Regions from separate parts of the Homo sapiens genome. Here regions 2, 3, 4, 5, 6 and 7 are each linked to region 1. Evidence: promoter capture Hi-C in 16 types of primary human blood cells and fetal thymus (Javierre and others, 2016). All regions are on one chromosome and are shown on one strand. The core of a region is centred on a gene start or on the middle of the fragment in contact, and the rest is flanking DNA. Distances in the headings are between cores, read along the strand shown.

The links. Contacts are between HindIII fragments. The CHiCAGO score rates a contact against its expected background, and 5 or more counts as called.
Region 2: a contact is called between a fragment that was not itself captured here and the fragment with the promoter of PRSS35 in region 1, in 3 of 17 cell types (megakaryocytes, M0 macrophages and endothelial precursors). The highest score is 7.9, in megakaryocytes.
Region 3: a contact is called between a fragment that was not itself captured here and the fragment with the promoter of PRSS35 in region 1, in 3 of 17 cell types (megakaryocytes, M1 macrophages and M0 macrophages). The highest score is 7.1, in megakaryocytes.
Region 4: a fragment that was not itself captured here is called in contact with the fragment with the promoter of PRSS35 in region 1 in 2 of 17 cell types (M0 macrophages and monocytes); the score reaches 6.7 in M0 macrophages.
Region 5: a fragment that was not itself captured here is called in contact with the fragment with the promoter of PRSS35 in region 1 in 6 of 17 cell types (M1 macrophages, M0 macrophages, megakaryocytes and 3 more); the score reaches 8.9 in M1 macrophages.
Region 6: a fragment that was not itself captured here is called in contact with the fragment with the promoter of PRSS35 in region 1 in 5 of 17 cell types (M1 macrophages, M2 macrophages, M0 macrophages and 2 more); the score reaches 10.7 in M1 macrophages.
Region 7: a contact is called between a fragment that was not itself captured here and the fragment with the promoter of PRSS35 in region 1, in 7 of 17 cell types (megakaryocytes, M2 macrophages, M1 macrophages and 4 more). The highest score is 21.3, in megakaryocytes.

Annotation. Positions count from the first base shown.
Region 1 is chr6:83,510,802-83,513,976 of GRCh38, forward strand. It overlaps PRSS35 (serine protease 35), which reads left to right and starts at 1,733. Exons shown (of 2, transcript NM_153362.3): 1 at 1,733-1,893. The HindIII fragment of the contact is 1,326 bases long and covers 1,026-2,351 here.
Region 2 is chr6:83,081,241-83,084,415 of GRCh38, forward strand. All of the region lies in intron 1 of DOP1A (DOP1 leucine zipper like protein A), which reads left to right. Among named protein-coding and RNA genes, the nearest start is that of DOP1A, 15 kb to the left of the region's middle. The HindIII fragment of the contact is 2,091 bases long and covers 468-2,558 here.
Region 3 is chr6:83,097,913-83,101,087 of GRCh38, forward strand. It overlaps DOP1A (DOP1 leucine zipper like protein A), which reads left to right. Exons shown (of 39, transcript NM_015018.4): 4 at 2,793-2,974. Among named protein-coding and RNA genes, the nearest start is that of DOP1A, 32 kb to the left of the region's middle. The HindIII fragment of the contact is 323 bases long and covers 1,404-1,726 here.
Region 4 is chr6:83,142,673-83,145,847 of GRCh38, forward strand. DOP1A (DOP1 leucine zipper like protein A) reads left to right here. Exons shown (of 39, transcript NM_015018.4): 25 at 2,852-2,986. Among named protein-coding and RNA genes, the nearest start is that of PGM3, 49 kb to the right of the region's middle. The HindIII fragment of the contact is 894 bases long and covers 1,276-2,169 here.
Region 5 is chr6:83,178,343-83,181,517 of GRCh38, forward strand. PGM3 (phosphoglucomutase 3) reads right to left here. Exons shown (of 13, transcript NM_015599.3): 7 at 1,468-1,625; 8 at 331-414. Among named protein-coding and RNA genes, the nearest start is that of PGM3, 13 kb to the right of the region's middle. The HindIII fragment of the contact is 1,054 bases long and covers 1,232-2,285 here.
Region 6 is chr6:83,197,565-83,200,739 of GRCh38, forward strand. It overlaps RWDD2A (RWD domain containing 2A), which reads left to right. Exons shown (of 3, transcript NM_033411.5): 3 at 1-1,371. Among named protein-coding and RNA genes, the nearest start is that of RWDD2A, 5.8 kb to the left of the region's middle. The HindIII fragment of the contact is 3,139 bases long and covers 74-3,175 here.
Region 7 is chr6:83,239,039-83,242,213 of GRCh38, forward strand. It overlaps ME1 (malic enzyme 1), which reads right to left. Exons shown (of 14, transcript NM_002395.6): 8 at 501-598. Among named protein-coding and RNA genes, the nearest start is that of RWDD2A, 47 kb to the left of the region's middle. The HindIII fragment of the contact is 2,103 bases long and covers 656-2,758 here.

The DNA.
Region 1 (3,175 bases), core at 483-2,982:
CAAGAAGGGGGGCATGAAAATGAAAGAGCCCTGGAAGTTTGCTTTCTGTGATGCTAGTGGAGAATGCTGAATAAAGTGAAGGAAGCAGACCTGGGTCCACAGTGAATCCTTCTGGATTTATACAGTGTTAGAATCCCAAAAATGTTTGAGAGCTGCAGGCCTTGGAACTCCTCCAGCTCAACCATCTCAATTTACAGATGAAAAAGCGGAGGCCCAGGGCACACAGCTATTTAGTGTCAGGCGGAATTCCCATTCTGAGTTCTGGACTTTCTCTGTGACTTCTCCACACTCCATCTGACTAGCAAACTTTTTAGTTCCACGTCTAATGCAGCAGCTACTATATGCCAGGCCCTGTGGTAGATGGTGGTGATTCAAAGATGCATATGACTATTATGATCTAATTGGTGACAGAGAGCTTCAGAACTAATTCTAACTGGTAAAAATTACCAATAGATTTTAATATATGGGTAAATGCTTATGTTAACAATGCTAAATGAGAAAACAGCAATGAAATTGTATATATAGTTGGCCCTTGGACACATATTTGAACTGCACAGGTCCACTTATACACAGATTTTTTTTTTCACCCAAAAGCGGATAGAAAACAGTATTTTCAGGCAGAAATGCTTAAACAGAGGGCAGACTTTTCCTATACGCGGGTTCCCCAGGGCCCACAGCTGGACTTGGACTTGAATATGGGATGATTTTAGTATGGGGGGGCGGAGGGGAAGAGGGCCTGGAACTAGTCCGTTGAGTATAACGAGGGACAATGCTAAGTATGTTATAATCTCATTAAAAGTACACAGAACTTGAGATACGCAATAACCTACTAACGAACCAAGTGTTACAAGACATGCTAAGACCTTGTGTTGTAAGTACTTGTGCACTTACTCGATCTCCCTGCTTTAGGGCCAGGACCGAGTTTTTTTGTTTTTGTTTTTGTTTTTGTTTATGTATTCTCTCGTTGTATCAGTTCATCTTGCCCCAGACCTGTCACCCACTAGAATTTGTTGTTAAACAAATGAAGCTTCCTTTCTCATGTGGCCCCCACCCCTCTCCTAAAGGAGAATAAAAGGTCGAGAGAACGGATGAGGTTAGAATGCTGGTGGGACTGAGATGGGAAAGGACCTTAAAGGTTACTCGCCCAAAGAGGAAAACCAGCCTTTTCCCTGCAGACGGAAACTGACGCGCTCCCCCTGGAGGCAGCGCAGGATGCTCCCGGGGGTCCAGGCGTCCCAGCCTGAGGTCCCCATCCTCGTGTGCAGCCTGGGCGCCTGGTACAAGTCGGGGTAACCCTGAGGCTTGTGCATCCAGAGAAGCTAGGTCCCCGGTGGAGACTAGCTTGGGATAAGGTTGGGGAGACGCCCTCCGTTCTTCTAGATGCCTGGGGTCTCAACAGCAAGCAGTGAGGAATGAGACTCTTAACTGAACAACTCCTGAGACTGTTAAAGGAGTGCATACTATTACAGGGACAGGCATCCCCTGTGAACCTACTCATGAATTTTTCCTAATGCTTAATTCAGCTTGGGGGCAGAAATGCTGGGGTGAGACACGGCCAGGTCCGCCCCGTTCCTCCAGGGAACTCCCCTCTCCGCCCTCCCTCTCCGTCTCCTCTTGCCCACCTCCTCCTCCTCCCCTCCCCCCACTCCATCCCACCGCGCCCGCCCCTCGTCATCGCCCCCTTTCCCCTCCCATCTCCCGGCCGTGGTGCGGCGCAGCTCTCTCCCCCTCCGCAGTCTCAGTGGCGAGCTCTGGGTGCTGTGGCCCGGCCTTGGCGGGGCGGCCTCCGGCTCAGGCTGGCTGAGAGGCTCCCAGCTGCAGCGTCCCCGCCCGCCTCCTCGGGAGCTCTGATCTCAGCTGACAGTGCCCTCGGGGACCAAACAAGCCTGGCAGGTAAAGATGAAGCTCCCCAAACCCAACAACCTTAGAACTTAGAAATTTCCCTGAGAAAGGCAGGACCTACCCGAGGAGAGCTTCTTTGAAGGACTTTGAAGAAAGGGATCAAACTTGACACTTTCTTTCAGTCCTCAAAGAAACTAACCACCCTTCCCATAGGCAATTCTGTGTGCCGGCCTCTGCACAGTTTAATATTAACGACAACAATGTTTGCATTGGAATATAAATGGAATTCTTTCTGCTTAAGCAGTACCAGAGGGGACCCTCTTTATTTTTATGATTGTTAACAGATGCCATTGAGAAAGGTATGAAACGCATTCCTGAAAAGTCTCTTTGGCGGGGTTACTATGAAAGCTAGCCTCTCCCCTCTACCCTTTTATCAACTTGGCTGCGGAGGTCAGCAAAAGGAGCATAGGAAAACGTTTAGAAAATGAGGCGGCGAAATGAAGTAGAAAAGCTTTTGACTTGCTTTGAAATACTCTAGCTGAAAAAAAAAAGTGTGTGGGGTGGTGATGGTGGATGAAACATTGGCAAAATATTGACAATAGTTGAAGCTGGTGATGTGCACATGGGGGTTGTACTTTTCTCTCAACTTAATACTTTTCTCTGTGCTTTTGTGTAGTCTTGAAATTTTCTATAATAAAAGGTTTTTTAAAAAGTTGTAGAAACACTCCCGCTTGATTGCTCTGACATTTTTACACTGTCCTTGATTTGAAAAGAAGCTGCTTGCTGTGTCTAGGGGGCTTTCACCCCTTATTAACCCTTCTGACTTCTGAAATTCATTCTTATTTTATCCGAAGTACATTTGTCTCCACAGAGGATTATAAAAGTCATATTTTGCTGGCTGGAGAATTATACTTAGAATCTGGTTTATAATTTAGAAGAGAGAATGTTAAAATCCCTGCCAAATAAGACATGTAGGCTTGAAGGTAGAGGCCAAGTATCATATGGAATTTTATTTTTATTAGGAAATATTAGAGGAGTTCCTTTAGTGAGGGAAGTGGTAGATGTGGATACTGTACCCCATTTTTCTTCCAGATAGCTGGGAAAACTGCATGCTTTTAAGAAGCTTTTTCACGTTTTAAAATGTGAGACTGTTTAGCATATACTTGGCATACAGTATGTGTTCATTAGATGTTAAAATAAGCAATTGCTAGTGTGAGTTAATTTTCTCCATTGGGTAAATGATTTTCCTCTGCCCAATGCTCAAATATCAAACAAGCATATTGCATTTTAACAGTAGGATCAGACTCAGAATTTGGGAGGATAGAGCTACTTT
Region 2 (3,175 bases), core at 263-2,762, 430 kb before region 1:
GGGATTACAGGCATGCACCACCATGCCCGGCTAATTTTTGTATTTTTAATAGAGACAAGGTTTCACCATGTTGGCCAGGCTGGTCTCCAACTTCTGGCTCAAGTGATCCACCCACCTCAACCTCCCAAAGTGCTGGGTTTACAGGTGTGAGCCACCATGCCCAGCCCTACAACCAACTGGTTTTTGACAAAGGCAACAGTAATACACAGTGGGGCAAGGACATTCTCTTCAGTAAATCGTGTTGGGAAAACTGGATAAACTGCAGAACAAAATTAGACCCTTATCTCTCACCATATACAAAAATCATCTTGGGTTATAAAAAAAAATAGGACCTGAAACTATGAAACTACTAGGAGAAACAAGAAAAGCTATGTGACATTGATCTGCACCATGATTTTGTATCTATGATCTTAAAAGCACAGGCAACAAAAGCAAAAATAGACAAATGGGGTTATATGAAATTAAAAAGCTTCTGCACAGCAAAGGAAACAATTAGCAGAGTAAAGAGACAACCTACTTACAGGATGGGAGAAAATATCTGCACACCATACATCTGATAAGGGGTTAATATCTAAAATATATAAGGAACTCAATAGCAAGTAAACAACTTGATTTTAAAATATGCAAAAGACCTGAGTAGACATTTCCTAAAGGAAGACATAAATGGCCAACAGGTATATGAAAAAAGGCTCAACGTCACTAATCATCAGGTAACTGCAAATCAAAACTAAAATGAGATATCATCTCACTCCTGTTAGAATTGCTGTTATCAAAAAGACAAAAGGTAAGTGTTAGAGAGGATGTGGAGAAAAGGGAACACACTGTTGGTGGGAATGTAAATTAGTATAGCCATTATGGAAAACAGTAAGGAGGGGCCTCAAAAAATGAAAAAAATAGAACTACCATATGATTCTGTAATCCCACTACTGAGTATATATCCAAAGAAAATGAAATCAGTATGTCAAAGAGAGAAGTGCACATAAACAGCAGTATTCACATAGCCAAGATATGGAATCAGCCTAGGGGTCTATCAGCAGATGAAGGGGCAAAGAAAATATGGTTTATATACATGATGGAATGCTATTCACCTATCAAAAAGCAAAATTCTGTTCTTTGCAATAACATGGATGAACCTAGAGGACACTGTGTTAAGTGAAATAAGCAAAGCACAGAAAGATAAATGCTGCATGATCTCACCCAATATGTAAAACCTAAAAAGTATATCCCATAGAAGTAGAGAATAGAATGGTGCTTACCAGCGGCTGGGGTGGTTTGAGGAAATGACAGGATGGAAGAATGTTAGTCAAAGGATATATAGTTAGGAGGAGTAAGTTCAAGGAATCTGTTGTACAGCATAGTGGCTATGGTTAATGATGATATGTTCTTGAAAAATACAAAGAGTAGTAAGTGTTCTTACCACAAAAATGACAACTATTTGAGGCAATGCATTTGTTAATTAGCTACATTTAACCATTACACAGTGTGTATATACTTCAAAACATTATATTGTACATAATACAATTTTATCTGTCAATTTGAAATAAGCTACATGTCTCTTTTTTAAACCCACTTTTTTTTTTTTTTTGAGACCGAGTTTTGCTCTGTCACCCAGGCTGGAGTGCAGTGGTGCGGTCTCCACTCACTGCACCCTCTGCCTCCTGGGTTCAAGCAATTCTTCTGCCTCAGCCTCCCAAGTAGCTGGGATTACAGGTGCCTGCCACCACGCCCAGCTAATTTTTGTATTTTTATTAGAGATGGGATTTCACCATGTTGGCCAGGCTGGTCTCAAACTCCTGACCTCAGGTGATCCACCCGCCTCAGCCTCCTGAAGTGCTGGGATTACAGGCATGAGCCACCATGCCTGGCCAAAAACCCACTCTTTTATAGATAACAACCAAAAATAAAAACTTCTGTATCAGAATCATGATCATTTTTGCCTTATATTTTAAACACTATCAGTATTGAGTGGTGAACCACTTGGGGTATTTTGAGTTGAGCTTTGGTCCCTGTGCTTCATTCAAGGTCTAGGAAGAATAACATATGTATTTACATTATTATAGTTTTTTTTTAAGTACAATTTCTAAGAAAGAAATCTATATAGCCGGAAAAGTTTTTTGAAAAAAGTTAATGAGAGAGGAGAGGTAGAATATGTCATGCAGGAGAATTAAGACTTGTGGTTTAAAAAAAAAAAAAAAAGTTCAGAAAGATACTGATTAAGGGCCAATTCCAGGAGTCAGTCTGCCAGAGTTCTTCCTGGTTCTTCCTTTTATTCTCTGTGGCACCTTGAACACTAATTGCCTTATATGAACATGGATTCATGTGTATATCTACCTCATGGATGTATTGTGAAGATACATGAGATAATTCACATGAAAGGGCTTAGTATAGTGCCTGGCACAGAGTAATTTGTAAGTCAGTATCAACTGTGATTATTATCATCATCTTGAGTAATACGTGGACAATGTTTATTTGGCTACTATGCTTTGGAGACAGGATGATCCTTTGTAACTCAAGGGTATGTGCTTAAGTGTTTATTATTATGGCTGTTTGCCATTTGAAGCTTAAAGTAGAATCCCACCTACCTGCTAATGGCTCATTCCAAGTTATAAATGGTGCTTATGTTTTGTATTTTCTAAAATTAATATTTTCATATTGCTATGTGTACCAGAAATCACAGAATTTGAAATGAGAAAGAATCTGATTTTATAGCATTCAGAGACAATTTTTAATAACGTATATAATTTTGTGTATATTTACTTGGTAAAAAAAGAAATCGTAAAGTTAAATCAGCTTCACTGTCACCTTGGCAGATCTATGGGCTTTTAAACCTCTTGTGTCTTAGGTTTTTATTCGTATAGCTTTTCTGAGACCTAAAGTGAAAATATAAATAGTCATATGCTGTATAACATTTCAATGATGGCCCACCTATGTAACAGTGGTCCCGTAAGGTTTTAATACTGTATTTTACTGTACTTTTCTATTTTTAGGTACACAAATACTTACTGTTGTGTTACAGTTACCTACAGTATTCAATATATAACATGCTGTACAGGTTTGCAGCCTAGGAGCAATAGGTTATACCATATAGCCAGGATGTGTAGTAGGGTTTACCATTATGTCTGTTTAAGCATGTTCTATGAATGTTCACACAATAACTAAATCACCCAACAACACA
Region 3 (3,175 bases), core at 315-2,814, 410 kb before region 1:
ATATGAGACAAGGTCTTACTCTTTCACCCAGGCTGGAGTCCAGTGGCATGATTATAGCTCATTGCAGACTCCTGGGCTCAAGGGATCCTCCCACCTCAGCCTTCTGAGTAGGTGGGACTGCAGGCATGCCACCATGTCTGGCTAGTTATTTTTTTAGAGATAGGATCTCGCTATGTTGACCAGGGTGGTCTTGAACTCTTGGCCTCAAATGATCCTCCCACCTCAGCCTCCCAAAGTGCTGGGATTACAGGCATTAGCCACTATACCCAGCCTATCAAATAGCTTAACATACAAATTAGGAAAGAAGTTTGTCTTAAAATACATACTAAGATGTGTGGGGGAAGAAAACACAGATAGTTTTTCCTCTGCTCTCACCACGACAATCAATGCAGAAGATTTCTATAACCCTAAAACAAGTGGTTATTTCTCCCTTACCAGCAAGCAAGCAGTTCTACAGTAGATACCAGCTGGATGTGCTGCAGTTCAATTTGGACACTATCTACCTGGAGATAGTATCAGATCCCACAGGTTGAGGGCTGAGCCTCATAAGACTGTCCTCCTGTTTTGATGCCAATCACAAGCCCTAGTTTGTTTTACCTGTGCTTCTGATCAACTGGCTATAAAGTTCCACAATCCTTTCTTTAGCTTTAATTTGCTAGAGCGGCTCACAGAGCTTAGGGTACTGGTTCATTATAAAGGACATTACAAAGGATACAAGTGAAGAGATGCATAGTGTGAGGTATGGGTGAAGGGACGTAGAACTTTCATGCCCTCCTCAGGAGTGCCACCCTCCAGGAACCTCCGCATGTGTTCAGCTGGCCTGGACACTCTCTAATCATCCTTTTGGGCCTTTTGAGACTTCATTGGATAGGCATGATTGAAGCATGGACAGCTGTGTAGAAATGTGATAGGAAAGAAAAGATATGATGTAATACTAACAGACTAAGTGGGGGAACCCAGCAAGGCCCGTCTGTCAGATTTTTCTTGGCCTCTCTACAGCATTCCTTCCTTCTGGGTATGGGGCAGGACCCCTTCTGAAATAGGGGTCTTTGACCTACAATGAGACCAAGTAGTCCAGAGAATTTTGTTACGGCCAGCTCCGAGACAGGGGAAGATTCCTGCCTTAGGGAGAAAAAGGAGATGAGAAGAGGGCAGGAAAAGTCAGAGAGAAATTGTTTTCTGAGGCCTGCTTCTGAGGCCCAAAGTTCCCCATATTATAATAAGGGCTGTGGGAGTTATGAGCCAGGAACCATGGATGAAAACCTACAGACACACTCTCACTCACAATACCACACCAGGACACTAGTTTTCAACCTGATACGACAGATAATCACTTTGATACCATAAAAAGAAAAGTTACCATTTTCAGTATGTCAAGGATTTGTCTTAAAATTTGATTCAGAAGCTTCTCTTTGATGTTAGAACTTCTAACATTTATCTTTTGAAGTTTGAATAATTCTTTATTCCTTTACAACATCCACAAGAAATTCCATCTAAAAGTACAAGTTTGCTTAAAGGTAGTTAGGTTCTTTTTTTTCCTAAAGAGTTTTGAAGAGTCTGTTTCTGAAGATATACTGGGAACTCTTTTTAAAGGCAAGTCATTAAATGATGGAAATTAATTTGCCTAATTAGGTACATAATTAGTTTTTTAGATTAACCAATATTCACAAAAGTAGATTTCATGGTATCTAGATAACTCAAAGAAGAATACCCAAGTTGTTTATGAAGCTTAGCCAAAATTGTGATAGAACAAGGCAAGGATTGCATATGTGTGTGTGTGTGTGTGTGTGTGTGTGTATATACATATATATATATATATACACACGTATACATATATATACACATACACATATATATATGCTCTATTACATATATATACTCATACCGCCTTTGATGGTCATTTCATATATTATGGCAAAAAAACACAATTACTTTTGCACTAACCTATTATTTCAACCTCAGTTTATTCTGTAAAATAAGACTTTGCATATTTCTTCTAAATTCCAGTTCTAACATAGTCTGTATTCATTCTGAGTCTTCACTTTGTGACATTCTATCAATACTTGATTATAATACTGACTTCTAGGTTCAAACTAAAGGATTACATTTATTATAAGATCTTCTTTACTTAACTAATCTCCTTTGAGTGGTTGGTAAGATAGGGTCTCTGTACAGAAATTCTGCCCTGACCATTATTTCTAAGGAAATGTTATGGTTGAATAAATAAAACAAAAAGTTGTTTTGTCCAGTTAGAAAAATCAGTTTATAAAAACAAATGGGCAATGATAATCTCATGTAGATTTTCTTATAAGCATTAGAATTACTTGCTGTAATTTGATATACTAGGACAATGGTTGTACCTCTTCCAAGTACTGTAAATATCTACTTTGAGGCCAGACTTTATTTCAAAGTAGCAAAAATGGATTGAAGGCTGTAACTTTCCATGTTACATGTTCATGTAACATTCCAGCTGTCTTCTCACATCAAATATTAAAAATTTACCAAAAAAAATCTAAAATACCTCTCTTCTCCATAAATTTGTTTTGGAAAATATCATTTTTCATTAAAAATGTTATTCTGTTAACAGGTAACGAGTTTATTTTTTAAACAAATTAATAAAGTTTGTAACATTTCCTCAGTTTTAATTTTAAATATGGTATATATAGGCAAATGTAGCTAACAAAACACAAAGACCTACAATGATCATTTTTTATAATACTATGCTAGAAAATGGAAGTAAAATGAATGCAATATTTTGTTTTTCTCAACTACATTAAAATGCTTTCTTCAAGGTTTTACAAAATAATGCAAAGTACCAAGTAGTACCCAAAAAGCTGACCATAGGCAAACGCCTAGCTCAATGTCTACATCCAGCATTACCAGGTGGAGTTCATCGGAAGGCGCTTGAAACATATGAAATTATCTTCAAAATAATTGGACCTAAGCGACTTGCCAAAGATCTTTTTTTATATAGGTAAGAATAATTTTACTATATATATACAAATAATATAAAGAAAATGTATTGCTAAACTATTTTATACTTTCTGCACTAAAAACTAAAAATTGAAAACTCCTTAGTGATTAGAAGTTTTCAGATATCAATCTTTGTTTTGTTTTGTTTGAGACGGAGTCTTGCTCTGTCACCCAGGCTGGAGTGCAGTGGCCCAATCTTGGC
Region 4 (3,175 bases), core at 473-2,972, 370 kb before region 1:
GAGAAAAGTTTTCATCTTGACTATAGTTTACTATGATGTGATAGTTCAAAGAGTTCTTGTTTCTAAATATAATTCACAAATTTTTTTTTCTACTTTTTTTGGTAGAGATGAGGTCTCACTTTGCTGTTGGTCTTAGCTGAGTTATATATGTGAATTTTGTTGCTTTCTGAGTTTCAAAGCTCAAGAGAAATGCTCTATATTGAAAACAAATCATGGCACATTAGAATAGTAAGGCTATTATATAACTTACATTTATATAAAATATATGATTTTTTCCACCTAACAATTCCTGATTTTGTGCTGATTTTACATTACATTTTTAAATTAATCAAAATAAACATTCACACCATATTACATTATTTTGCATGTGAAGATTCAGTAGTAGATATCACTCACATTGAAAATTTAAATCCTGGACTACTTAAAAGCAGTAAAGAACATTTGATTTAACATGGCATGTTGAAGCCAGGCACAGTGGCTCATAGCTATAATCCCAGCACTTTGGGAGACCAAGGCGGGAGGATTGCTTGAGGCCAAGAATTCAAGACCTCATGAGACCCTGTCTCTACAAAAAATAAAAATAGTGAAGTGTGGTGGCATTTGCCTGTAGACCTATCTACTCAGGAGGCTGAGGCAGGAGAATTATCAGGTATATTACAGCTGATAATATGTAATTCACATAGAGCAATGCCTAGCACTTAATAATCACTGTGTAAATATTAGCTATATTATTCCTCATATTTAAATAGAAATAGAGAGCCAAGGATTACCAGTCACATAAAGTCTCTAATGTGATAGACAGACTGAAACAACTAGATTTTAAAAAGTCAAACAGTGCAGATAACAGAAGAAAATGTAAATAATAGTAATGTCCTTAAGTGGGTGAGACCATGAAGTAGAAAGGGAGATCATAGGAAAGACCATTCCCAAAATTAAAATTTTTCATGGATATTAAAAATTCTGCAACAGAAACAAAGCAATATTTTTAGGAGGGTTGGAACAGAAAGTGGATAAATATCAGAAATGGAATACAAATTTAAAGATACGGAAAATACGAGAAAAGAGATAAGAATATTAGAGGAGTGATACTAGAGACCCAGTATCTTTCTGCAGAATTTAAAAACAAGAGGAGAAAAATACAAAGAAATAATACAATAAAAGTCCTCAGGAATGAAGTAAATATGTTTCCAGATTGTGCCTACCACTGTGAAAAGAGATCTGCACAAAGATTAGCATGTAATTTCAAAACACTGGAGATAAAGAAGAGATCCTAAAAGCTTCTAATGAAAGAATACTGGTCACATTCCAAAGAATAAAGATGAGATTTGTTAACAGCAACACTGGGAATTTTGATGGGAAGTTAGTTTCAACCCATAATTCTATCTCCAGCCAAACTGTCACTCAAACATTTTCAGCTATGCAATGTCTCAACAACAACAACAACAAGGAAAATTGCCATGAGTTCACTTTTTCTTGGCTACTGGAAGATGTAACTCCACCGGAGGAGGAATAAACCAAGAATGAAGAAGACAGGGGATCCAAGAAATGGGCTGCAACACAAAAGAGAAAGCAAGGGGAATCTCTGGGATAATGGTAACAGGAGAGATATCAAGATGACACTGTGTAGCAAACCTAGAGAGTATCAACCCAGGGTAGAATAAAAAGACATCTAACAGAAATGTCTCAAGGAAAAAAGAGAAGAGAGGGAGGAAAAGATACAAATTAATTACCTGAAGTATTTGAATATGTAATTAGAGATTTACAGTTGAAGTATGTAGGGATGAATTTTTAATAGGTACAGAGAAAATGAAGCAAACAAAGCAGTTTATTAGCTCTAGGAAAAACAAAAAGTTGTACCATAAAACAAATGCAATGCTAGTACAATGCACATTGCAACCAAAAATAATCATGTGAACATTGGATATGGATTTAAATAAAAATATGATATAACAATGTTGAGAGGATAGGTAGAAAAGTATAAGAGAGCTACATCTTTGTCTTCCAAAATAAGTAATGAATAGATAATGTCTAAAATTGAAAATAAAATCAGGAAATAGGAAAAATAGTAGTATATGTTATTTAGACGTAATGGAAAAGAACATAAAGAGTTGAGCATGGTTGCTTTGGGGCATGGGAAGGGATATAGGACAATACTATTTTTTCTTATAAAGCTTATTGTTCTGTTTTATTTTTTGAGGTGATGTACCTTTATTGATGAAAAATAAATAAATTTTGAGCCTGGGCAACATAGGGAGACTCTGTCTCCACAAAAAAATTAAAAAATTATCTGGGCATAGTGGCATGCCTGTGGTCTCAGCTACTCAGGAGGCTGAAGCAAGAGGATCGCTTAAACCTATGAGGTTGAGGCTGCAGTAAACTGTAATTGAGCCACTGCACTCCAGCCTTGGAGACAGAGCAAGACCCCATCTCAAAAAATATATACATATATTGTATATATATATATATATGCAAATTTTACTTTTATATATATAATATATATATTTAAAAGTATATATATAATATATATATATAATAATATATATATATATAATATATATATATATAAGTAAAATTTGCCTAAAGTAGTCAAGGGACTTGAAGAGGTCTTTATATTAAATAGAGGCCAGGGCTGGGTGCAGTGGCTCATGCCTGTAATCCTAGCACTTTGGGGGGCTAAGGCAGGAGGATCATTTTGAGCACAGGAGTTTGAGACCAGGCTGGGCAAAATAGCAAGACCTCATCTCCATTTAAAAAATATAAAAAAAGAAGAGATCATAAAATACTCTCTTCTGTAACTTCCCCTAAAAGACTTATATACATACATACATACATACAATGATTTATTACCTAGGTCATTCCTGCAGCCAGTGAAGAACAGCTTTTATTAGTGGAATTGGTTCGTTCAATCAGTGTCATGAGAGCAGAAACTGTTATCCAGACTGTAAAAGAAGTTTTAAAGCAGCCACCAGCCATAGCCAAGGACAAGGTAAGAAAAAACTCTTCTTCACATGTGTTTACAATTCTGTTTCAGAAATTATGCTGGTAAGATTTTTTTTTGTACAATAATGTCCTTTCAATATAGTACAGATTGCAGAGATGACTGCATGTGGCCCTCACACTGCTTCAATCAAAACAATTATCAATATTTGTAGTGACTTGCTATTCTGATTATTCG
Region 5 (3,175 bases), core at 509-3,008, 330 kb before region 1:
AAATTGGTGACTCTAGGCCCTTAAAGAAAAGTATTCCTGAGCTATAAAACTGGCTTATTAGGCCTTTAGAAAGACTTACATTCATTACAAAGGCACAGAGAAAGAATTCCAAGTTTTCTAAAGGAAAACTCCAAGAAAAGGAAGGAAAGAAGTTTTCCTTTATTCATCAAGGACAACTAAATTTTTTCTTATTTATTTCTCTTTACCTTTACATGAACAGCAGCTCAGCTTCATGCACTACAACATAATCACTTTTATGAGGGCAGTATCTTTCTCACAGAAACATGATCTTAATTAAGAAACTACCAGAAAACAAAAATGGTTCAATACCTTCATAACTTCTTCAAGATACCGTGTTGAACTTCCATTTGCATATGCAGTTTGTACAACACCAATATTCAAACTTTCTCCAATCTAGACAAAAACAATGATACTTAACTTGCCATCAAAAGTATGGTCTACAAAAACAAATATAATGAGAGTTCTAAAGGCTACCAAAATTATCAGCCAGTTCAGTTGTGCCTTAGTTTATGCCAAAAATGTCTGACTGAAAATTTACATGTATGCCAGGAAAAAAGCCTAAAATACATTTGAACACTATTTAAAACAATTCTATGAGAATTCCTCTTTTAAGAAGCCTGTATCTCCTGATCTTCACCTCTTTAATTTTTTAAATAAAAGTATCTGGCCAGGCACGGTGGCTCACGCCTGTAATCCCAGCACTCTGGGAGGCCAAGGTGGGTGGATCACCTGAGGTCAAAAGTTCGAGACCAGCCTGGCCAACATGGTGAAACCCCATCTCTACTAAAAGTACAAAAATTAGCCAGGTGTGGTGGCATGCATCTGTAATCCCAGCTACTTGGGAGGCTGAGGCAGAAGAATTGCTTGAGCCCAGGGAGGCAGAGGTTGCAATGAGCCGAGATCACGCCCCTGCACTCCAGCCTGGGCAACAGAGCAACACTGTCTCAAAAAAAAAAAAAAAAAAAATCTATTAAATTCTTAAAGTATGCTGTTTCCAGATTATAATAATTTCCAATTACATTGTGTACTTAAAGCTAGCCTGAGATTTATTTCTAAAATAGCAAAATGAAACAAATCTCACATTACTAAGCTTATCATAATCAGTTAATATATCAGATGATGAGATTTCCTATTAGAATTTAGGGCTTTTATGGAGTGACCACAGAACTGTCATCAAAGTTTCAATTATGATGGAAGCAAAACTTCCTAAAGCTTCAAATCACAAAACTCAGCCAGTATAAGGAGGAAAAGAGTACCTTCAGGTTCCAAAGCCAATGCCTCAAATGTTCAAATGACTGGGTATTACCACTGCTCTTTTTTTAATTTTCTGCCCACTAATGTAAAGAATTTGTCATAAATTGTGCCCTTCTGACAAATGATTGTAAAATATGGAACTATTTCACTACTAAGTCTTGTTTTAGAGGGTAGCCAATCCCCCCACCATACCTCCACCAGGAGCTCTTTAAGGAAACTGCTAATTAACGTTGCTATCTTGTCTCCATCTATGAGATGAAAGTGGCCATCTGCATCATGGTAGTAATAAACAATTCTGTCTGCATCTCCATCAAAAGAACAGCATCTTTCATTGGACTTAATTTCCATTCCTAGCACACAGGATAATTTAACATGCATTTCAGTCTAAGAATTTATTATAAAGAGTTTTAGAATTTTCTCTTAAAATTATCCACCTAAAAATCAATGTCTTAATCTTAAATAGTGTATAATCTTTAAATAGTACATAGTTTATTAGTGGTTTTTACAGGTCAAATTCTTTCACTGCAAAGTGAAAAAAGGAGCATTCAAAATCTATGCTGATATTTGCTATAATACTACCATAAAATTCCACTTTATAAGCAGGTTGGTTTGGCTAGACAGGTGTCCCATAAAGGTTTTTTGAAAGCTACATGTATTTCTGAATGTAATTTACCTAGGACCGTGATCTCCTTTACATAGAAAAAATAATCAGCACTAGATGATGTATGTGCTTTAATTCTAACAGAAATGATTTTTATTTGTTCATACCACCAATAAAAAGAAACACTGATAATTAAGAGCAAAGAATTATAACTTTGAGAGATAACTGGCCTGTGAAATTTACATAAAGTTGCTGAAATCTCAGCAATTGTCACATCAAATTTATTAGAAAATTTGGCTATTCCTTAGCCATGACAGCAGCAGAGTGACAAATTCAACATGAGACAACTAAGAAGTAAAAGGCTTTTGTCAGGAATGGGATCATAAGATTGATGAAAGGACATGATGCAAGCTTCAGGAAAGCAAGGACTATGGTTTTGTTCATACTGTAGTCCCAAAGCCTAGAGCATAGAGAGTAAGAGCTCAGTATTTAAGAAATGGATAAATAAGTGGCAGAACTGAACTGTCAAGTAAATGTCAAAACAAGCAATTCAATGAAAAGGAGCTCAAATTGGTTGACTACACTGACATTTTAAATGCTTACTAAGTAAAGCATAATAACATGAATGAATGAGGCAACTGGATGAAGTCTGTAGAGTTCCAGAATGCATGTCCTATTTTAGGGGAGCAGCATCTATCTGACTGTAGTGGACTAATGCCATGTGTGAACATTTTCTGATTTTGGTAAAGAGATGCTAGAGATTCCAATATATAAGAGAAGTCACGGAATTTTTAAACAGTGGCACACAGACAAACACACAAATGCAGCCAGCCAAACAAAACATATCTGCAAGTCAGGTTTGGCCTAAGCAAATAATTTAGGGTCTATAATGCAGATAAATCCAGAACACCTCTTACTACAACTAAAATCTGAAGAAAAGTCTTCCTCCTATTCTGCACTGAGTGGAAAACACTGATTGCTAACAACTGTATAAGCAGAGTTACATTTGCTTTCCATAGTGTATTTAATTCAGATAAGGTATCTAATAATACTTACTATGCTCCCCTGTAGATCTGTGATTCTCAAAAAGGGATCCCCAGACAAGCACTGGGAACAAAGCCTGCAAACTTGATAGAAATGCAAATTTCTATCATATGCAAATCCTATGCCAGACCTCCAGAAACTCAGAAGTGGAGCCCAGGAATCTGTGTGCTAACAAGCCCTCAAAGTGATTCTGACACATGCCAGTTTGAGAACCACTGCTCTAGAATGCCATTTCCTGACTTTGCTTTCCCCACC
Region 6 (3,175 bases), core at 393-2,892, 310 kb before region 1:
TTCTGTGGTCAGCTACTGCTGCCCTTTCCCGGGAGGCATTCCATTCTCCTACTGGGTCCTCTCAAGATGCCAAAGCTTGGTGCTGGGATTTAGGAACACATCCTGTTAGATGTCAGACAGTGCTGCTTGTGCTGGGGAGCCTACAGAACTTCTGATGAAACTACCATCTGGTTTTACCCTCTGTGCCGTGGATGCAGACGTGTCCTTGGGCTACAGAGAGGACATGATGGAGCAGGAGGCCCTATCCCAAGGAGGTGTTAGAACTGGGTCCACTTTGTACTGCCTCTTTCTTCTTAGGTCACAATGAGTGTCCTCTCAGGGCACAACTCAGATCTTCAACCCATGGCTCGCTGTAGGCCTGCCCCGCCAGGTCCTCCAGCTTGCCATTCATGTTTCCATCCTAGCCTTGGTTGTGCTGGAACTCAGGCTGGAGCCTGACACTTTGCCTATATGCAAAGGGAAGAAATAGGACTTACATTGCCAAGGAATCACTTCTTAATGTTTGCCAGCACTAAAAACAACAAAGTATAGGAATCTTTTTCCCCCACAGTCTCCACAAAGCTATCAATAAGTATAATTCGCATTTACAAGTTTTAGGCCTTCAACAGATGTAACTCCATCCAAATGAATCAATATGTGCCATCAACCTACCTTATAGAGGTGTTTTTCCTGATTACATGAGCAAAAGTAGCTACAGAAAGATGGGTGTAAAGAAAAGGCAATAAATTCTAGGTTATGAACTCTACTGCTTCTGGAGCTATTTCTGAGATTTTTCAGAACCTACTTTTTTATAAATAAGTCTAATTTGAGCATTCTGCAATACTTTTTTTCCTATCAGGAAAACTAATGCAGATAGTATTATGGGGACGTGTAGGTTTTATAGAAAAAAAAAGTACATGTATAATTCAAAACTCAACTTTGTATGTATAGGAGTCTGCTGGTTGTTTGCACAGCCTGATATGAGCACATAATAAAAGTCCGTCATTCCCCAACCCCCTCCCCCTACACACACAGCTTATTTTGGGAAACTGCCCCTTCCCTGTGTGATTTGGGAAGAGAAAGTGATAGGAATCAAGTTGTCCTCTGGCAGCCTCCTGGAGAGATGGCTGTGAGCTCTTGCTGCTTAAACCTCTAGTGCCACCCTCATTTCTGACCTACTGAATGCTCAGCTGTTTGGCATTTCCTTTGAATGACCCAGCATCTTCCCTTTTGTTGTCGGAAATCAGAATCAGTCTCTATTGCTTGTAACTTAAGAATCTGGATATTCTGTTTATTATATTCTTAAATGGTTATTTGGAAAATGTGCTCATTTATAAAAGTTACAGTGTCTTTTTAAAGTTTGCTGAAGTAAATGAAGCATATCGTCAAGTATGTTCTTTGCTTTTCATTCCTTACTGGTCTATTATGTGTTAGGCTAAGAGCTGAGGACACCTGCATAGTGAATTGAGTAGGCCAGATGAGTTGGCAGACCACAACACAGGGACCTCTAAAACATTCCTTATTAAATCAAACATACATTGCCTGTGAACTTGAGCGTTCACATATAACTCCTTACATGCCATCCATCCCCTCTCAGAACCTGAGAAGGTTCTGATGGTGTCTGTCTGCAGCCTTCATGGAACCCTTTTGAACAGGTTTTTTTCACTTGCTTTTATCTCAAGTAGCCCAGTAGTAAGTCAAAAGAATAGTTATTGTCTGAAGAGGGCACAGTGTTGCTCACACTTCCTGGTTTTATACATAATCCTGATTTGCCACAGAAACTCTGAGCCCATTGGCTTTCCCTCATAAGGTCCACATGGTGGAACTAATTTCACCATAGCCTGGACCAGCTAGAGAGACCTCTCTTTCTGATCCCAGTCAAAACTAGATGCATTTGGGTCAACCCCCGAATGAATTTGAGCAGGGTACACAGAATTTAAGTAAGCCCACTGTATTAGCTCATTCTTATGCTGCTAATAAAGACATACCCGAGACTGGGTAGTTTATAAAGGAAAGAGGTTTAATGGACTCACAGTTCCACATGGCTAGGGAGGCCTCACAATCACAGCAGAAGACGAAGGAAGAGCATAGGGATATGTTACATAGGGGCAGGCAAGAGATCTTGTGTAGGGGAACTCCCCTTTATGAAGCCACCAGATCTCGTGACACTTATTCACTACCACGAGAAGTATGGGGTAAACCACCCCCATGATTCAATTATCTCCACCTGGTCCTGTCCTTGACACATGGGGATTATTACTATTCAAGGTGAGATCTGGATAGGGGCACAGCCAAACCATATCACCCACCAAACCCTGGGAGTTCTCCTTAGTTATAGAAGGAACAAAGTACACAATTTGTTCCTCACAATGAAGGGGAAATCCCAGCATGTACCAGACACTGGACTTCTACAAAACTTGGCTGCAGGCTCTGTGCTTTCATGGGATTTATCGTTCACCCTCTGGGATGACACATCTTACTAGGCATCCAGGAAACATGACTCCATTCTCCAAGTCCAATCAGAATATCACCTGGAGGCATACAGCATGCTGCCCTGTATAGTGGTAAGCTGATCAAAGGTCTGATATCGAGACTGATATTCTGACATAGAAAGTTAATGTAATGTTGGAAAAAGACAATCTACATTGCTGCTTACTGAGATAAAGAAAATGCTTCAAGTGGTCTTTACTTACTGGAATAAAGGAAAAACAAAAAAGCATTGACCAAATCAGTAGCCAGCTACTTTCTGATTTGCTCCAAGAAAAAAGAACTTATATGACAGCAGCTGCAGTTGGAATCACCATCTGCTTAAGTTTCGGAATATGTGCAGCCATTCTATTTTTTTGAGACGGAGTCTTGCTCTCTCGCTCTGTCACTCAGGGTGGAGTGCAGTGGCCCAATTTCAGCTCAAAGCAAACTCTGCCTCCCGGATTCAAGTGATTCTCATGCCTCAGCCTCCCAAGTAGATGGGATTACAGGTGTATGCCACCACGCCTGGCTAATTTTTGTATTTTTAGTAGAGATGGTTTTTCGCCATGTTGGCCAGGCTGGTCTCGAATCCTGGCCTCAAGTGATCTGCCCATCTCAGCCTCCCAAAGTGCTGGGATTACGGGTGTGAGCCACTGAGCCCAGCCTGTGAAGTCATTCTTAGAGACCCATCTGTCTCCTCCTACATATGCCAAAGATCATGCTAAAG
Region 7 (3,175 bases), core at 457-2,956, 270 kb before region 1:
TATTTTGGGATTTTTGCATGTGAACAGTAATAATATACTACAAATCCCTAATTCAAAATGTTTTTTCTTAAAAACACATATGTAGTTACATACATACACACTGAATTGTGAGTCAAATTTTAAAAACTTGTTTTTGTAACACTGGAGTATACTAAAAGCCAGTATCAGATAAACCAGCTTAAATACATAAAAGCTTGCATATATACACATACATTGGAAAGTTTTCCTGTATGGCACCTTAGATATGCATAACAAATACCTACGGCAACATTTGATAATACCACAAATTTAAAACTGTGAAAAATATCTCATTACTTCTGTACTAAATTATCCTATGAATAATTAATATGTCTCAGTACTTAATTTGGGAATCTTCCATAAAGCCTACAGTCATAATATACTAAAAATTTGAAAGAATACGTCAAATCTTGAGTTAATGAGCAATTAACACTAATTATATGTTAGTTTAGGAGAACATAAGTATTACACAAGGCAAATACCTCTCCAGCTCCTTGGAATAGTATTGTTTGATCAGACAGTTTGTTCTTGGTTATTCGAAGAGCTGCAAGGAGACCTGCAACTGCAACAGATGCTGTTCCTGAAACAAGTAATAAATATCCTTGAGTAATCCTCAAACAGATCCTGCCAATTTTCAAGCTTTTATTCACAACTTGAAATAATCATAAAACAGGTTAACTGGTACAGAAGAGAAACCTGTGGTTGTCTTATCCCATGCTTGCATACGTGGTAAAATTCCCAGGCTACTGACATCAATATTTTAAGATAGCAGCTTACTACTATTCTTGAAAACTTCCCTAAAAGAAGATTCTGTGACTTATCTTAGTGACATAATCAATGAAAGGATGGGATCTGGATTCCTCAGATTCTAGCTCAACAACCCACTGACTAGCTGAAAGAATTTAGAGAAATTATTGTGTACATCAAATAGATAGTTTCCTCATCTGTAAAGTAGTTTTACTTTATGATATAAAAGAGTAATAAGTGCTATTAGATTCTTCCGTCTAATTACTCTTGGGGTTTTGAAATCTATTAATGATCCCCTTCACACAAAGAAGGCTTCACACAAAGAAACTCTTCTTCACACAAAGTAGGCTTCACACAAAGAAACTCTTCTTCACACAAAGAAACTCTTAATGTAAGAGTTTCAGAACCTGAGATAGGAGGACACAAATAGTAAATTCTTGCTGATGATGGTATTGGTGCTCATAATATTTTTGATACATTTGGAATTTAATGTTAATGGCAAGTAAAATCTAATTATATTGTATCATTTAATAGACTTTTTACCTATGAAAATCACTGGTGGATCCCAAAGGTACTAGACAAAACTAATGCAAAATTTCTTAAGATAAAAATTATATTTTCCTCATCATGTCTCATAGGCATAAAAACTTCACCAGTTCCAATTATATTACTTTACCATATAAGCATTCACAGATCACAAAGCAGTTCTCTTGCTTTAAGTGTAATTACACAGCTCAACTTCTTTATGGCTAATAAAGCAGCAGCTTCTTGCAACACTTTCCAGCTGTATCTATACTTTACTCCTCCAAGGTAACATTCTACCTATAATGTTTCCTACATCACTCAGCTGGGTAGTAAAGCCTAGCTAAACGTTAAATACCCTTATTTAACATTATGGTTAAAACAAAGATTAGACTAGGTTTGATGAATGACACAACGATGAAGCGTTATGTATGTCAAGTATCAAAGGTAATCAACATTTCACAATCAGTAAATTTGTTCTATTCAATCTTTTAGTTTCTTTCTTGTATAATTAGGTAGCCGCAAATAAGAACACAATAAACAATAATTGTTGAAGGCCTGTTAGTCCCATATGTGCCTTTTCTTTAGGATCACAATGTGTACTACAAAAATAAAATGCATGCAATTTAGAGTCACTATTGCAATAATTATGAACTGTGCTAAGTCATATATTATGAAAAAGCCACTCTTCTATACATTACTTAAGGTGAAAATCTATGCAAAAAATATGGCTAGTGTATGTAGAGAATATATCATGACATGATTAGAATGATATTTTCCCCATGCAAGATATATTCACTAGAGTCATTAAACAGATGAAAGAGAATTTAAACTAGAAAGAGAGGTATAGATATCCACTTACTAAATAAGAAGTTATTCAGAAATAGTAGCTCAAGCTATCTCTCTCTTGGGTTCTTTTGAAGTAAACTGCCCAGAAGTTTGGATCTGGGGAACTCTAAGCTCCCTTCCAACTCTGAGATTCTATGATTTTAAGGGTTTCTATAAGATTTAACCAATTGAAGCATCAAAGTTGAAGTATCATCAGCAATCACTGTATTTGTATTATTATTTTTATTTACATCGAATTGGACACTTACGGTCAGATAGACAGAAAATATTCTAAAATATCCTATTTGGTACCTTAATTTCATATGGTTATGCTAGATCACTTAAAACTCAAAATGTGTTAAGTTCATACATTATATTTAAAGATATATTTCATAATATTTCCTGAGAACACAATGAAAACACTAATCTTCCATTTATAGAATTAATTAATAAAATCAGAAAGATATTTTTAGCACTATCAAAAATTTAACTTGAACATGATTCTTGTACATGGCCTGGTACTACCTTGATTTAAATTTCATTGCAGAGAAGGGAATACATGTAGAAAATTGAAATTTCATAAAACTGTAAATTTTTACAATAAATTATTCCATAATAAGTTTTACTTTAAGATTTAAAACTAAGCTTTTTATAAGTCAGACAGAATTCGTGCTTAGGTTTATCTTCATACTATCAGTTTTTGTATTTATTTTTATTTTTTTATTTTGAGTCAGCGTCTTACTCTGTCACCCATGCTGGAGTGCAGTGGCGCGATCCTGGCTCACTGCAGCGTCCATCTCCCAGGTTCAAGCGATTCTTCTGCCTCAACCTCCCAAGTAACTAGGATTACAGGCACCCACCACCATGCCTGGCTAATTTTTGTATTTTTAGTAGAGACAGCGTTTTGCCATGTTGGCCAGACTGGTCTCACACCCCTGACCTCAGGTGATCTGCCCGCCTCAGCCTCCCAAAGTGCTGGGATTACAGGCGTGATGAGCCACTGAGCCCCGCCTGTACTATCAGTTTTAAAGAGGACTTAACACTGTTAGCAAGATACTAA